2 separate regions of the Homo sapiens genome follow, and region 2 is linked to region 1. The links are contacts of gene promoters, found by promoter capture Hi-C in blood cells and fetal thymus (Javierre and others, 2016). All regions are on one chromosome and are shown on one strand. Each heading gives the region's core, a stretch centred on a gene start or on the middle of the fragment in contact. The rest is flanking DNA. Distances are from core to core; before and after follow the strand shown. Region 1 holds the start of CA10 (carbonic anhydrase 10). Region 2 holds the start of TOM1L1 (target of myb1 like 1 membrane trafficking protein).

The links. Contacts are between HindIII fragments. The CHiCAGO score rates a contact against its expected background, and 5 or more counts as called.
Region 2: the fragment with the promoter of TOM1L1 here is called in contact with the fragment with the promoter of CA10 in region 1 in 1 of 17 cell types (endothelial precursors); the score reaches 9.8 in endothelial precursors.

The regions. Positions count from the first base shown.
Region 1 is chr17:52,157,369-52,160,166 of GRCh38, forward strand. It overlaps CA10 (carbonic anhydrase 10), which reads right to left and starts at 1,346. Exons shown (of 9, transcript NM_020178.5): 1 at 358-1,346. The coding sequence starts at 418. RefSeq lists a silencer at 1,901-2,195. The HindIII fragment of the contact is 15,466 bases long and covers 1-2,798 here.
Region 2 is chr17:54,899,404-54,902,201 of GRCh38, forward strand. TOM1L1 (target of myb1 like 1 membrane trafficking protein) reads left to right here and starts at 1,449. Exons shown (of 16, transcript NM_005486.3): 1 at 1,449-1,520. The coding sequence starts at 1,463. It overlaps LOC124904033 (a long non-coding RNA gene), which reads right to left and starts at 1,334. Exons shown (of 2, transcript XR_007065854.1): 1 at 1-1,334. RefSeq lists a silencer at 1,124-1,463 and enhancers at 1,544-1,653, 1,674-1,763. The HindIII fragment of the contact is 6,286 bases long and covers 1-1,991 here.

The DNA.
Region 1 (2,798 bases), core at 96-2,595:
GAAAGCCAGGGGATGGGGGTGGTTGTTGCCAAGGCTCGGATTTCGGCGCCAGAGTTCTCAGCCAGGAAAGCAGTTGAAAATCAACACCCATCTGCCTCTTCTTTCTCATCCCCCACCACTTTTTCCTTCACCCTTCTAGGACTGCACACAGATCCTAACCACCCCCCCCCGCAAAACACACACATTCACACACCCTTGGGCTGAGAAGATTTTTGATTCTGAAGGCGGCAAACCCGCAGAACTCAAAGGGTCTCGCCACCCCTCTCTCTGCCCCGCGGCTATATACAATAAAACCCCATACACCCCAGACATCACAACATAATCCAAATCAGCCAGTGACTTCGGCGCGTCCCGTACCTGATATGCAGACGATGAAATTGGCTTGAAGAAGAAAAAGCACCTCCCAGACTATTTCCATCCTCTGATTCTCATTCCAAGTGCATCACTCGACGGGAAAACGGGGGGAAGGGGGGAGCCCGACACGGCACACACACATACACACTCGCACACACTTCCGAGCGAGTGCACACTCGCACTCCCACCCGACAGCCGGCCAGGGACAGTCACCCCCAAGATCAATATCGCAGTTTGAATTGTTCCGGCAAATCTCCCCTCGGGCTCGACGGATGTGCGCCCCAGATGTGCTGACACATGTCCGATGCCTCGCTGCCTTGGAGGTCTCCCCGCTCGCGTGTCTCTTCTCTTCGCACCAGCGGCGGAAACCGCACTAGCAGCGGCGGCGGCGGCGGCGGCGGCAGCAGCCACCTGAAGCCACCAACACTGGGCTCTTCCAGCAAAAACGAGACCCCGATTCGTCTGGCGCCCCAAGAAGACATAGACGATAGCCCCCCGCCGGGCTGCGCCGTGCAATTCCGGGCTCCCGGGAGCGCGTAGCTCGCTGGCTAAGCCCAGGCAGTCCGCGGCAAGTTGCCCTCGAAGTCCGCCCCCCTCACCGGGGCATGGTCGGAGGGTGGCTGCTGCGCTCCGGGGCAGTTCTTCTCCTGCTTCCGGGGGGCGGGGAAGGAGCAGACACAGCAGACACACAGAGAAAGAGAGGCAGGGATTATTGCCCGAAACCGCCAGCCGCCGGCAGCCTCCGCCGACCCTCCCTGCTCCCCAGGTCCGCGCGCAGCCTGCAGCCTCTCAGCCGGGTTCCGGCAGTGCGTCCAGGGCGCCGAGGGGAAGGGCTGGGCCCCGGGGACTGGGGCGCGGTGGGGGCACACAGACTCTCCAGGTCGCGCGCGCCCTTCCTGCTCCTCTGCTATTTTCCTGAACTCCCCAGAACCCCCAGTTGCCTGGCTTCCATCGCCCGCAACTAGCGCCGCTGTCGAGATTTTCCGCAATACAACTGCAGGGGTCGTTATTTCCTCGCCTACGGATCCCTACGCTTCCCAACTCAGAGAGGAGGAGGACAGGTGGGGGCGGGAGGGGGAGGAGGAGAAGGAGGCTTGGCCAGGTGAGCGTCCTCGCCGCCGCCGGGCGTCCCAGCGTCAGCTCCGCAGCCCGGCACCCGGGGGCGGAGGCAGGAGGCCCGGGCGGGGAGGTGAGGCTGAGCGCGGCCATGAGGAGGAGGAGGAGGAGGCTGGGTGTCACAGCTTCAGGCCACCTTGGCCGCCGCCTCGGCCCCAGTCCCTGGCAGCCGCCTCCGCACTCCGCCCCGCCCTGGCTGCCTCTGTTACCCTCCAGGATTTTCGAGTTTCTCTTCTTAAAAAGAACTTCGTGCTGCGGGTTCGGCGCGGGAGACCCAGGCAGGACTCATCCTGGGAGTGCTGTGCTGTGCTCTCCCTCCGCTGCGAAATATTGGAGATTTTTTTGCATAATTCATTCCCTGCCCTCTCCATTTCGTCCCTCTCATGCCCCCCACCCTTTACCCCTTTCCGTGCCAGTGCCAGAACACTACTTACCCCAGAGTTCTTTTCTCTGCAGGTTCCTAGACCAGGTGCAACTCTTGCCTGCAAGTCCCTGCCTCCCTCCTCCCGAAAAGGGGGAACACCGCCTTTCCAAGTCCGGGTGCCAGCAGCGGCTGCTGCCAACTGCGCCTTCGCCCAACTCCAGGAGGATCCGGGACTATTGGAAACCCGGGCTTTAGAGGAACGGGCTTCCCTTCTTGTCTTTCTTTTATTCTGCTTTTCTTTAGGGAAGCTCTAGTGCTTTGGAGGCTTTTGCTGGGCTCCAGGATACTTTCCGCCAACGACACTCAGCAGCTTCCACTGAAGGAGATTTCCCCACCAAACCCGCGCGCGCACACACACACACACCCAGCGCGCGGCTCTCCAGGGCCCCAGGGGAAAGTAGGGGCGGCGCGAGCACCACCCACCCACCCAGGCCGAGGCCAGGGGCAGCCAGTCCGCAGAAGGTCTCGTGGGGAGGCGGGCTGTCTATAACCTAGGAAAGACTTGCACCCGGTTGCAGTGTGGATGCAGGGGAATTGAAGAAAACCCTGTGCTCAGAACTGCTTGCCTAAGAGGGCTGGGAACGAAAGGGGAAAGACAAAATCTCAACAGATTTGTCTGCTTCCATCGCTGCAGTGGTGGTTTGCGAAAGCTCAAACCTACCTCTTTGGGGTTATTGAAGAAGAGGAGGGAGCGTAGAGGGAATCCCTGGGAAGATCCAGGATTTCTCGGCGCGCTTGTCCCGATTGGGAACTGTGACGTTAGGAGATTTTGCACAAGCGCGGATGAACACACACATAACAAACACAAACACACACATACCCCGCGGGGATTTTTTATCCACTTTTAATATTTGATGTTTAGAAGCTATTTCAGTATAAACCTCGGTCTAAGAACTGCACAAAG
Region 2 (2,798 bases), core at 199-2,698, 2.7 Mb after region 1:
AAACGGCAACATCTGAAATAGCTACTCGCCCTGAATAGGCAGGTGGAGAATATTAGTTACACGTGGGACAAATCCCATTATGAGACATATCATCACAACAAGAATATTTCATTCTAGATTTTAGAATCCCAGGTTTTGGCTCACTTTGGTCAAGAAAAATTATAAATAATTGAGTTACAGATAATTAAATGTTAGCCTCCTGGAGTGCATGGCAATTGGTTTTGACCTCTATATTAAAATTCACAAGACCACGGACATAAGTCAAAACAGGTCCCCTTCGTCTCCCTAGTCACCATCTCCAGGGCTAAAAAACAGACTTGAAATGGGTGGCAGTTAGACTACAGGAAACAGGATCTACAAGCACCAGGAGCTCATCTATGGCTATCTGACATCGCCTGGGGACACCTCACTCTCTGGCAGGCTCCTGCTGGCTGGAGATTGTTAACATCGCCAATCAGATGTTAATTGAATGCAAAGGAATAGGAAATAAATTCTGGTTCTGAAGGGGCAGCTGGAAAGGTGTTGGGCTTCTCAGATTCCAACCTACATTACAAAGCAGGCCTAAAGCCAAGCATACTCCTTGCCAGAAGAAACGGAAAGCCCCTCTCCCGTTTTTAGAATCAGGCTGGAAAACACGGCTCCCAGAAGGTGGGGTTAGAAAACAAGAGCTTGCGAGGCGGCGCCCTGTGGTCCCTCGAGGAAATAGTAGAGAGACAAAGAGGGCCTGCTCCTGGGAAGCCCTAAATTCGAAGCCAATCCTTCCTCCTAGACATGACCACAACTTTAAAGGGCAGGGCGCACACCTCCCCTCCCGGATCTCTAGGACAAAGGCAGGTCGAGGGTAAATATTTCTAGTTATTCAGTATATTCAGTGGCTAACTATTTATTTTGTGGGTACCAGACACCGACATAATCGGTTACGTCCTTCCCTTAATTCTCATAATTCTGAGGTTTGTGTTATTAACCCCCTATTATCTTTGGTCTACCCAGGGCAGCCAAAGAGGCGCAGAGAAGAATGACAAGGTGCCCAGCAAGCGGCAGGATCAAAGCCTGGGTCTCTAATTCCCAGGCTGGAGATTCTGGGCTGCCTGCTCCTCCTGCACGGGGCGAAAAGCCCACCTGGGATCCGAGCGGGCGGCCGCGCCACTCTCGCAGGCTCCATACACCCGCCACTACCCGCCTGTACCACCTGCAGCCGGCAGCGCAGCCTCCTCGCGGGTCCCGCAGGGCGCGCTGCAGGTGCGCTGGGCGTCCCGAAGCCCCGCCCTCGCGTCCCTGCCCCGCGCCCAGCTCCTCACGCTCGGTGCCCGCGCCCCGCAGCGGCAGCGCAGAACGCACCGCCTCTGCCAGAGCCCGGGAAGCGCTCGGGCGAAGAGGAGGAGCCAAGGGTACCGAGCGGGTGGAGTCGGGAGCCGGAGAGCGGTGGAGGCGGATTTCCTGGGCCCGGCCCTCTGGCGCTACCATGGCGTTTGGCAAGAGTCACCGGGATCCCTACGCGACCTCCGTGGGCCACCTCATAGGTAAGGAGGCGCGGGGAGAGACGCCCAGGCAGGCAGGGGACCGTGGGATCCTTTCCTGCTTGATCCATTCTCGGCCTGCAGAGGACGGAGTTAGTCCAACTTGAAAAAATTATTCCCCTCCCCCCGCAACTTTCCCAAGGCACCCGCATTCCACCCGGCCCCCTTTCGTCGTTTCCTTCTTGGCCAACTCACTGTAGAACCTCAGTCCTCAAAAATGTACCTTCCTTTCGATGCCGCCTGGGGAGTGGAACCAAACAGGTGAACCGCGGGAGTCAGGCATGGAGTGTTTGGGCCTCCACGAGGAGACACCAGAAACTTCTCGGTAGGGGAAGTTATTCCTAAAGGCACATTCTCCAGGGCACGGTATTGTTATGCCCGTTTTACAGATCAGAAGAGGAGGCTCTGGGAGACTAAGTGATGTGGCCTTACTGTGAGGGGCAGGTCTCCCCAAACCAGTTTTCTCTAGTGCCAAGCTTATACAACCTGGATTACTTTTCTGGGTAAACAAAGAGAATGAAAATGCTTGGCATTGGAGTGAAGAGGAGGGGAACATAGGAGCCATCTGGGGCCACGGAGGTCTCTCGCAGGCCACTAGGGACTACACCAGCATCCACCTAAATGATTTCTCTCTCCTCCGGATGTACCTTGCATGATGTATGTAGAAGCCAGTGATTGGACTCCTACCAGCACCAGCTCACTGCTCCTTCTTTTCCCTGATTCCTCCCTTGGGAATTGGGTGTGGCACGAGTGCATATTAATGCCAGGCAAAGTGTGATGATGTCAGGAACTTAGTGGGGTGATGAAATCGTGAGAACCTAGTAGTTGTAGTAAAGAGGCCCAGATTTGGAAAATTTAGATCACAGCTCTACTAACTGCTGTGACACCGAACACACCACTTAAACAGAACCTTAGTTTACACATCCTTATAAGATGGTCAGAGTAGCTACCATTGAGGAGATGCTTTCCCTTAATGGCTGTGCTTTTTTGGATATTAGAATGAACCCCAAGCAGAAATGGATTCAGACTGTGTCTTCATAGGCAAACGAAACTTCAGCAGTTCTTCTGCTTAATTTTTTAATTCTGTAAACATGGACTAACTGTCAGCTATGTGCCTGGACCTGGATCAGGCACTGGTGAGGCCAAGGTGAGACGTGGTCTCAAACCTGAGGGAACTCACTTTCTTGTAGAGAAGACGGGCACAGTTTTGTGTGGCACCTTTGCAATGCAAGAAAATGCAAAACACACAAAACTTAGGAGAAGGGAGAAATGAATTCTGCG